3 separate regions of the Homo sapiens genome follow, and all the other regions are linked to region 1. Evidence: promoter capture Hi-C in human tissues and cell types (Jung and others, 2019). All regions are on one chromosome and are shown on one strand. The core of a region is centred on a gene start or on the middle of the fragment in contact, and the rest is flanking DNA. Distances in the headings are between cores, read along the strand shown. Region 1 holds the start of TMEM220 (transmembrane protein 220). Region 2 overlaps TMEM220-AS1 (TMEM220 antisense RNA 1). Region 3 overlaps PIRT (phosphoinositide interacting regulator of transient receptor potential channels).

Region 1 (3,418 bases), core at 563-3,062:
GACTGTCCCAACAAAGTACCACAGTCTAGGTGGCTTAAACAACGGAAATTTATTTTCTCACAGTTCTGGAGGCTGGAAGTCCAAATTCAGGATGTTGGTAGGGTTGGTTTCTCATGAGGCCTCTCCCCTTGGCTTGCAGACGGCCGTCTTCTCCCTGTGTGCCCATGTGGTCTTCCCTCTGTAACTGTCCCCTCTTCGTATCAGGACACTAGTCATATTGGATTAGGGTCCACCCTATAACCTCATTTTAACTTAATCATCTCTGTCAAGTCCCTGTCTGCAAATGCAGTCCCATTTTGAGGCACTGGGGGTTAGGGCTTCAGCATATGAATTGGGGGTGCAGGGGGAATGCAAGTCAGCCCCTAGCACTCTCGCTCTCATTTTTTTCTTTTATGTAAGGAAAAGCACAGTGAGAATAGTCTTCGCTTGTTTCCAATCCCAGGGCTGATTTAGCTGTGGAACTCCACCCAGTGCTGGTCCCCGCTGTCCCCACCCCACCTCTGCAAACACGGGTGCCCACCCCCGCCAGCCGCCAGGCTCCCTGCCTAGTCCCGGCACGGGACCTTCACGGTCCCAGCACCAGGCACAGAGCAGACAACGTTCTTGAAATAAGTGTTTCGTGAAAAGAATGAAACTGAGAGGGAAAGAAAAAAAAAACTAGACAGTTTTAGGAGATTTAGCTCAAAGGAAAAGAGGACAGGCACAGAAGCTCCTGATTTGAAGCGATAAAGACTCTTTAGAACAGCAGAAATGAGGCCTATGGATGTGTAAATGAGCCCGGGGAGGAACTAAGCAGAAGGGCGAATTACAAAACAGAAAAAGACCAGACAGACTAGGGGAGAACAGTGAATATTTCAGTGTCTTCGGTTCATAAGAAATTCATGAGCAATTTTGGAAATTTTGTTGGTTTTGGTGGTGGGAGAGAATTGTAAATATGTATAATATGTAAATATCTTTTATAATAAAAGCCCATGAAGATAAATGAGCCTGTCTGCCGAAAAGCTGTGAGCCGTATAAGATGTTAATATAACTGTCGTCACTCTAGAAATTACCATAATGCTTACAGGGATTTGAAAGTTCCTGAGCTTTGGAAGGAAATGCATAAATACTAAACAGAACACACACACACACACACACACACACACACACACACACACACACATCTCTTTTTCTTTCTCTTTCTTATTTTTGTAAAAACAATTTTTATCCTTTTTTTTTTGAGGAGTCTCGCTTTGTTGCCCAGGCTGGAGTGCAGTGGCACAATCTGGGCTCACTGCAACCTCCGCCGCCCGGGTTCAAGCAATTCTCCTGCCTCAGCCTCCTGAGTAGCTGGGATTACAGGCTCCCGCCACCACGCCCGACTAATTTTTTCGTATTTTTAGTAGAGATACGGGGTTTCACCATGTTGGCCAGGCTGCTTTCGAACTCCTGACCTCAGGTGATCCGCCCACCTCGGCCTCCCACAGTGCTGGGATTACAGGCGTGAGCCACTGCGCCCAGCCCTTTCTTTCCTTCTTTCTTTTTCTTTCTTTCTCTTTCTTCCTCTCTCCCCTCCCGCCTGCCTTCCTTCCTTTTTTCCTTCTTTTTTTTCTTTCTTCTTTTTTTTTTTTTTTGTGAGGAAGGTAGCTTTAGTGAAAACAGGGTTTGGAGTTGAACCTATACGGGTTCAAATTCGACTTCCGTCCACCACCGAGACCTGCGCTCCCTGAGGGACTCGCTTTCCCATCCGCGAAACCAGGACGGCGCCGCCTACACCCCGCGGCGTTCGGGGCGGGCTGAATGGGTCGCTGAGTGGGGGCTACACCCACGCCCTTCGCTCCCCGCCCCCGGGCGGAGCGACGGCCACGGCAGTGTCCCCAAGGCACCGAAACCGAGGCGGGGGTCTCGGTCCCTCCGCGCAAGGAGGAAGGCGGACCGTACGTGGCAGGACTCACCGCCCCGCACGTGGCAGGACTCACCGCCCCGCGCCGTGTTCTCCGAGCCATGGCGCCAGCGCTGTGGCGGGCCTGCAACGGACTCATGGCCGCCTTCTTCGCGCTGGCGGCCTTGGTGCAGGTCAGGCGGCCGCGGTGGGAGGGGGACCCGCCCGGCTCCCAGCTCCGCCCCCTGGCCTAGCGGGCCGTGTAACTGACTAGCGGGCAGAGTCGCAGGGGCGCACAGTTAGTGGGGAGGACGGGACTTGGGCTTTCTGCTTGGGGAGCCCCCACTTTCTCCCCCGTCTAAGAGACGCGGATGTGTTCATGGAAGCGAGTCCCATACCAGGGCTCACACCCTGGAAGGGGCTGGTTCCGCGCGTGGAACTTCCCAGGGGACCTCAGAAGAAGCGGCCCTGGCTCCTGCGTTAACGTCCGGCCCGCGGACGACACTGAACATATCTCAGGGCCTAGGAGACGAAGCCGACCAAAACCCTTTATAGCATCATTAAACTTTTTAGTCGGCTTGGGGACCCCCTTCATAATCATTTCCCTCATTTCTTGAGACTGGTGGGGGTGGAGGGCCCTTAAAATACCCGTTCTGGGTTGGCGAGTCCTCTCCAGAGCTCCCGTGAAGGCTTTTCAAAAATGTGTGGCTGCCTGTTAAAAACATCTGTTGTGTCAGCCAGAAACCCCTTCACCCGTCCTCATCTGGACTATATCCTGTTCAGATTTTGTACCCTCGATGCCTATTGCAGTGTCTGGCACTTAACAAATTAATAAAAAATGTGCTTAAATGAATTTAAAAGGAATGGAACAGCACAGGATGTCTGCTAACACCTTGGTATTCTGGCGTTCCAGGTAAATGACCCAGATGCAGAGGTGTGGGTGGTGAGTATGAGCCGCTTCCAGGCTTTCCTCCGTTTGGAAGAATTGGGGAACGGCACAAAACACACGGTTTTATGTCTTTACCCCTCCTCCCTGCTTAATTTTCTGAGAAACTTAAAAATCAAACCCTTGGGAAGCGCTTTTTCCTAAAATATTAATAGGCAGGATCAGAGTTCTAATGTAATGTGTGTGTGAATTTCGAACTTTCTGGAAACAGGTCTTTCTGCAGTATTCCCTTTGGTTAGATGGCCCAACTGAGGACTTTCTTGAGGACCTAGAGTAGGCCTCTCAAGATCAGTTGAACAATTCCTTATGAGTTTCTAGCCAGACACTCAATGCAAACCTTTGACCGGAAAATAACAGGCTTAAGTTCTGAGGTTCTGCTAATTCAGTGACTTATATTTCTAGAAAGTATTAACTCCTGGCTGGGCAAGGTGGCTCACGCCTGCAATCTCAGCACTCTGGGAGGCCAAGGCGGGTGGATCACTTGAGGTCAGGAGTTCTAGATCAGCCTGAGCAACATGGTGAAACCCCGTCTCCACCAAAAAATACAAAAATTAGCCAGGCGTGGTGGCATGCGCCTGTAGTCCCCAGCTACTAGGGAAGCTGAAGCAGGA
Region 2 (3,669 bases), core at 884-3,383, 78 kb before region 1:
CTGGCTGAACCTAGGCAACTCTCTTAACGGCTTTCAACTCTGGAAGAGGAACAGGGCTGCAGGGAGGACAAGGAGATGCTGGATGTAGATCGATGTCCATTGTACATAAAGTGCAACACAAATGCATGGAAATACTATTATTATCTGCTGAAAGGGGGCAAGGTTACCAACCTGCGGAGAAGGAAGGTGATGAGCAGCAAGGAGGTGGTAATGGGAGGATGCTTTTGAGATGTGGACAGGAGTCATGAAGGTTTAGGTCAGCCCAGTAGGGAATAAGATAGGAAAACCAGAAAAGAGGGCTAGAGTTTCCTGAGCTGGAGGGAGGGTCCTCGAGCATGGATTACAGAGGTCCAGGCAGCGCACTTTGGGGAATTCTTATAAGACCCTGTGGGTAGCCTAACAGAGGAGGAATGAAGAGCTCTGAAAATTGTCAGGGGTCACTAAGATAAGAGCGAATACATTTCTGAAAATACTGACCCTAAGTCCCACACTGAGAAAAAGGAGGAGTAAATGAAGATTGATTGGGGAGCATTGATCAGGGTCAACATTTTTCCAGATTCTGGCACTATATCCCTGGCAGTATGGGAAGGGATTTCAGTTGGCAGACAGGCTCACATTAAAAGGCATAGCCATTTCAATTTTCATTCAATCTTTCCTATGACTTCCAGGACAAAGCCACTGGTTGGTGCTATTATGTTTTATGTACCTCTCTAAACTTTGTGAGTCTTGGGTCTTTATTTGAGAAAGAGAGCAATTTCAGTAGGCAACAATGTCTAGTTTGGAAATCAGCAAATCTGACCTGCTGCCTGGTTTTGTAAATAAAGGTGTTTTGTTTTGTTTGGTTTGGTTTGGTTTGGTTGGAGATGGAGTCTCCGTCTGTCATCCAGGCTGTAGTGCAGTGGTGCGATCTCGGCTTATTGCAACCTCCACCTCCCTGGTTCAAGCGATTCTCCTGCCTCAGCCTCTTGAATAGCTGGGACTACAGGCATGGGCAACCACACCCAGTTATTTTTTGTATTTTTAGTAGACAAGGTTTCACCATGTTGGACAGGCTGGTTTCAAACTCCTGACCTCAGGTGATCTGCCCACCTCAGCCTCCCAAAGTGCTGGGATTACAGCAAAGTTTTATTGGAATGCAGCCACACTCATTCATTTACATATCATCTCTGGCTCTTTCACCATGCAGTAGTCTGTTTTCATACTGCTATAAAGACATACCCAAGCCTGGGTAATTTATAAAGGAAAGAGGTTTAATTGACTCACAGCTCAGCATGGCTGGGGAGGCCTCAGGAAACTTACAATCATGGTGGAAGGGAAAGGGGAAGCAAGGCACCTTCTTCACAAGGTGGCAGGAAGGAGAAGTGCCCAGCAAAGGGGGATGAGCCCCTTAGATCTCGTGAGAACTCACTATTACAAGAACAGCATGGGGGAAACTACCCCAATGATCCAATTACCTCTACCTGGTCTCTCCCTTGACAGTTGGGGATAATGAGAATTATGTGGATTATAATTTGAAATGAGACTTGGGTCGGGACACAAAGCCAAACCATATCACACTACAATGGCAGTGTTGAATGGCTGTAACGGAGACCAACAAGATTGCCTGCAAAGCCCGAAACATTTACTATCTGGCCCAATACAGAAAGAGTTTGAGTACCCCTGGTCTGATTTAATTACAATTGTTTTGTGTTCAGTATATTTATTCCCAAGTACTTTCTGTCTAAGTCACACCAGTTTTTCACTGATGGTGACAATAACTGATTGCAGTTTTAACAAATCCATTTTTTTTTTTTGAGACGGAGTCTTGCTCTGTCGCCCAAGCTGGAGTGCAGTGGCACAATCTCAGCTCACTGCAAGCTCCGCATCCCAGGTTCACGCCATTCTCCTGCCTCAGCCCCCCGAGTAGCTGGGACTACAGGCACCCGCCACTATGCCCGGCTAATTTTTTTTGTATTTTTTTAGTAGAGACAACAAATCCATTTTTAAAAATTAACAAAATAATATAGCATTAACAAACGAATGTAATATTCTATAAGTAAGAGACACAAATTGCAGGGAATGGTACACTTAAACAATAAGTGAAGCTTGATAAACACTGGATTACGAGATTAGGGGGCGTTGAGGGATTTGAGGATGGTGAAGATAAAGAGCCACTTTGGTAGAGGTAAGGGATCTGAAAGATAAAATGGATCTGGGAAGAGGAGTTCATGAAAATAAAGGATTTGTACCCATCGAAGAATGGTGAGACAGCACTGCACGTCCTAATAGATTTAGTGAGGGTAGTATGGGGAGGCCAAGGGCCAGGCAGCTGCTACCAAGTGAAGCCCAGGTTGGTAAAGGGGAGAAAATGATGGTGCCAGAGAGTCATGGATGGATGCCTTCCAACCTGGGTTTTTCCTTACATAAGCATCATGGCAGAAATGTAAAGATTCCCAGCGGCAACCACAACAATAACACTTGTCCCTGTTTACAGAGTGCGGGTTCTAAACACTTCACACCCATGCACTCACTTACGCCTCACAGTAATCCTATGAGGAAATTGAGGCACAGAGAGGGTAAGTGACTTGCTCAAGGTCACACAGCAAGTGAGTGGCACAGCTAGGCACTCTACTAAGCTCTGCACCATGAAAAGGTAGGCAGACCTAATGAACAGGCCGGCATGGCTAGACCCACCCAACATCTGAGCCTGCCACCCAGGATGTGACTGGGCCTTTGTCATTCATGGAGTCAGGTCTGGGATCTGTGACGCTGGGTCAGCTGAGCACCTAGCTAGTCCATCCTGGTGTCAGTTGCCTGCCCTTTAGGATCCAGGTCATGGAGAGGCTGTCATCTGGTGACATCACGGATGACAAATCATGATGACTTTGCCAAGGGAGTGACAACGTCTCAGTTGCCGAGAAGAGGCGGAGCTGTGAGACAGCAGCAGAAAGACAAACCTCTCAGAGGCACAGGGGTGGCTGCAGCCCCAACAGCCCAGCAAAATCGCAGAAGGAGAGAGGCAGAGGGGCCCTCAGTGACCAAATTGGAAGTTGCAGGCCAGGGGCTAGGCGTCCACCTGTGCCTTCCACACCATGTTATGGTTCAGAAAGCAAATGTCCAGAGGAGTGTAACAGATGCCTACTGTCTTATACTTCCCTGTTTTTGCGATTTTTTTCTGAAATTATTAAATTGCAATATAATCTGAAATTATACCATTCATGTGTTAATTATTGCCTCCACTCTTAGCATCTTATGTCTGTGATGTTAGGTCAAGATCAAGATCATACTTGATCTTGATCCTGCTGCCTGACCCATAGTAGGTGCTAATAATATTGGTTCAATTTAAATCCCACTTCAGCTCAAACTTCAAAATGTGTAGGGGTCACTTAGGGTTACCCACTCGTGGAGAATGAGCACCTTGGCTTGGTGAATAGAGGTGACAGCAGCCAGAACCCAAGCAGGGTGAGAAGACCCCACCTTCTCAGCCTCTCGCCCAGGGACACAGACATAGCCAACAGCACCTCCGTGTCCCCAGGAGAGACAGGGAGGGGTTGAAGCAGTGCCTGCTGGCATGGAGGGCCACCTTCAATGGGGTGCTGACTTTGCAATTATGTTTTTTCTGAAAACTTGGCTTGAGAGTCTAAATTTTCTATCTATACTACAGCTAGAAATCAAAGGATGTCCAAATAA
Region 3 (3,576 bases), core at 1,060-3,559, 96 kb before region 1:
GGTACAAAGCAATGTACAGACACCTTGGAGACATTTGAAAGATGAATCAGGGCAGTAACTTTGTGAAACCTCCAGGCAGGGAACCTGGGCTCTCTCAAACAGAACCTATCCTCAGGAAAGTACCTAATATCAGTCATTTACATCTTATTATCTTGTTGTAAATATATAGACCTTTGCCTTGAACCCACATTTCTGATTATGAAATGAAAGGCTTTAATCTAGGCTGGGTGCGGTGGCTCACACCTGTAATCCCAGCACTTTGGGAGGCTAAGGAGGGTGGATCACCTGAGGTCAGGAGTTCAAGACCAGCCTGACCAACATGGTGAAACCCTGTCCCTACTAAAAATACAAAAATTAGCTGCGTGTGGTGGTGGGCACCTGTAATTCCAACTACTCAGGAGGCTGAGGCAGGAGAGTGGCTTGAACCTGGGAGGCGGAGGTTGCAGTGAGCCAAGATCGCACCACTGCACTCCAGCCTGGGCAACAAGAGCAAAACTCCACTTCAAAAAAAAAAAAAAAAAAAAAAAAAAGAAAAGAAAAAGAAAGAAAAGAAAGAAATGCTTTAATCGGACATGAAAAGAATTTGAGAAAGCACTGGTCTGGTGAAGTATTTGGCGGGCAAGCAGTGCTTCTCTGCAGCCCAGCCCTGAAATTGCTCCACATGGGTGACCATCTACCTCCCCTGAGTCAGGGTCAGTGATGAGGGAGCCCCAGTGGCTGAGAGCTATGCAGATGGGCTCTCGATTAGACCCTGGGGTGGGCAATTGAGTGAGACTCCATACCTTTCCAGGCCTGAGAATAGGAAGCTGGAAATTGGCCTTGATGTAATTAACATGGAGGGTAGGGAAGGGTGGCGTTTAGATCTTAGAAGGTTGCACTGTGGGGGCCAGGCACAGTGGCTCATGCTTGTAATCCCAGCACTTTGGGAGGCCAAGACAGGTAGATCACCTGAGGTCAGGAGTTCAAGACCAGCCTGACCAATATGGAGAAACCCCATCTCTACTAAAAATACAAAATTAACTGGGTGTGGTGGTGCATGCCTGTAATCCCCACTACTCAGGAGGCTGAGGCAGGAGGATCGTTTGAACCCGGGAGGCGGAGGGTGCGGTCAGCTGAGATCACGCCATTGCACTCCTGCCTGGGCAACAAGAGTGAAACTCCATCTCAAAAAAAAAAAGAAGGTTGCACTGTGAACCTGTGACATCACTGTCCTCTGCTGACAGAGCACGTGAAAGCCCAGGCTGCACGAAACGGTGTTCTCCAGACTACGCATAGCCTGGTAGGAGTGACAGGGTTCAAATCTGAGCTCAGGCTGTTCCTTATCGTGTGATCTTCAAGAAGTTGCTTCACCTCTCTGAAGCTTCACTATCTCATCAGTAAAACAGGACTAATGCCTAATTCACAGGTTTATTGTCAGGTTTCAATTTAACAAAGGAAGTGTTTGATGCAGTGTCTGGCACAGGACACACATGCAGAATTTATCTGTAAAGCATCACTCTTCTAATAGACAAACGATATCATTTATGGAGTATTTGCCATATGCTAGGCATTATTTCAATGCATTACATCCCTTAACTCACACCGTTTTGAAAATTCTATGAAAGAAGTAACATTATCCTCATCTTATAGATAAGAAAACTGAGACAAAGAGAGGTTGAGTAATTCCATCAAGATCAGACAACTAGAAAGTGGTTGGGTCTGAAAATAAAATGCCATTCAACAAAATATAGCTGGCCGGGTGCGGTGGCTCATGCCTGTAATCCCAGCACTTTGGGAGGCCGAGGCAGGTGGATAACTTGAGGTCAGGAGTTCGAGACCAGCCTGGCCAACATGGTGGAAACCCGTCTCTACTAAGAATACACAAATTAGCCAGGCTTCATGGCAGGTGCCTGGAATCACAGCTACTCAGGAGGCTGAGGCAGGAGAATCACTTGAACCCGGGAGGTGGAGGTTGCAGTGAGCTGAGGTCACGGCCACTGCACTCCAGCCTGGGTGACAAAGGGAGACTCCATCTAAAAAAAAAAACAAGCAAACAAACAAAAAACTATAACTTGTTTGTTTCTAAAATGGCATCACTGTTCCTTGTTTTAAATATTAAAAGCTATTGAATAAAATGTTATAATATTTATCTCTTGCAAGAAAAAAAAATTATACCAGCTTGGGTGGTTTCTTATTTATGTGAATTTCATTTCATTTTCTTTTTTGGCTTCAGCACAAAAACCTTGTTCACCCTCCACTGAGAGCGGGGCTAGAGATGGATGCTGAGTACAGGAAGGGTGTGTGAGGATTCCTTTGGCTCCACTCTTGTTTCCAACTATTGCTGGTCCTAGGCGCCCAGTCCTGAGCAACCATGACGATGGAGACTCTCCCCAAGGTTCTAGAGGTCGATGAGAAGTCTCCAGAAGCCAAGGACCTGCTGCCCAGCCAGACCGCCAGCTCCCTGTGCATCAGCTCCAGGAGCGAGTCTGTCTGGACCACCACCCCCAGGAGTAACTGGGAAATCTACCGCAAGCCCATCGTTATCATGTCAGTGGGCGGTGCCATCCTGCTTTTCGGCGTGGTCATCACCTGCTTGGCCTACACCTTGAAGCTGAGTGACAAGAGTCTCTCCATCCTCAAAATGGTAGGGCCTGGCTTCCTGTCCCTGGGACTCATGATGCTGGTGTGCGGGCTGGTGTGGGTGCCCATCATCAAAAAGAAACAGAAGCACAGACAGAAGTCGAATTTCTTACGCAGCCTCAAGTCCTTCTTCCTGACTCGCTGATGGTGGTTTCCGCATCTCCCTGCCACCTTGACTGGGAGAAGATCTGATGACCAACATCCGACATCCCTGTCTCCTCTGTGGGGTGCCATAAAACTGATCCAGGAAAATGCTCTTCCTGACCCTGTGGGGAAGATAGAGCTTGGGGCTCCACCCTCCATGCAGCCGGGAATGTTGCCAGATGTATCCACTTGATCTCTATTCTGACTGATGCTTCCTTGGATCCCGGCTGTGGCCTTCCCTTTGGTCACTCTAACCCCCTGCCCCTGCATCCAGGCATCATTCATCCAACTCTCTCTGCCAAGTGCAATGCATGCTGGGAAATTCTTCGAAGGTGGGCTATGCCCAAGGGAGAACCTCATGTTTACATATCTGAGTGCCAGAGCTGGATTCTTCATTTGCATACTTCTGGAACCAAAACTGACCCACGGAGGTCCTTTACAGAGGAGGGAGGGATGGCTGAGCTCTGACCCATTGGGTTTGACAGCCCTAGCTCCCTTAGCAGACTTTCAAGATCACAAGTATCAAACATTCCAAAGACTGAACAATGAAGGGAGGCCTGGGAAAAATACTCTCCAAGATGGCACGTGCCCCTGGACATGACAACATGACTCTAGGGGTTAGTCAGCTGAAGAAGTTTAGTTCCTAATTATATAATATTTACATCAGAGGCAGTGGGGTAGGCTAGGGGATGTCACTGTTTCCGCTTGACCTTATCTTTCTCATTGACCACTGTCTTCTCTGAACTTGATCATTAGCCAAGGACAAAATGCATGTTGCCCTAATTTCTTTCCTACCCCTGCCTCTATCTCTGC

Evidence for each region. Contacts are between HindIII fragments. The study calls those that stand out against the background at their distance.
Region 2: a contact is called between a fragment that was not itself captured here and the fragment with the promoter of TMEM220 in region 1, in 2 of the 25 tissues and cell types used here (stomach and thymus).
Region 3: a contact is called between a fragment that was not itself captured here and the fragment with the promoter of TMEM220 in region 1, in 2 of the 25 tissues and cell types used here (H1 embryonic stem cells and liver).

What each region holds. Positions count from the first base shown.
Region 1 is chr17:10,728,417-10,731,834 of GRCh38, reverse strand. It overlaps TMEM220 (transmembrane protein 220), which reads left to right and starts at 1,812. Exons shown (of 6, transcript NM_001004313.3): 1 at 1,812-2,055; 2 at 2,775-2,804. The coding sequence starts at 1,984. It overlaps TMEM220-AS1 (TMEM220 antisense RNA 1), which reads right to left and starts at 2,058. Exons shown (of 4, transcript NR_073458.1): 1 at 1,935-2,058. RefSeq lists enhancers at 1,187-1,773, 1,774-2,360 and silencers at 1,754-1,993, 2,004-2,173. The HindIII fragment of the contact is 10,329 bases long and covers 1-3,418 here.
Region 2 is chr17:10,806,971-10,810,639 of GRCh38, reverse strand. The region is part of intron 3 of TMEM220-AS1 (TMEM220 antisense RNA 1); the gene reads right to left. Among named protein-coding and RNA genes, the nearest start is that of TMEM238L, 4.7 kb to the right of the region's middle. RefSeq lists enhancers at 2,387-2,886, 2,887-3,388. The HindIII fragment of the contact is 6,861 bases long and covers 1-3,669 here.
Region 3 is chr17:10,824,420-10,827,995 of GRCh38, reverse strand. PIRT (phosphoinositide interacting regulator of transient receptor potential channels) reads left to right here. Exons shown (of 2, transcript NM_001101387.2): 2 at 2,213-3,576. The coding sequence starts at 2,351. The coding sequence ends at 2,764. Among named protein-coding and RNA genes, the nearest start is that of PIRT, 12 kb to the left of the region's middle. The HindIII fragment of the contact is 9,418 bases long and covers 1-3,576 here.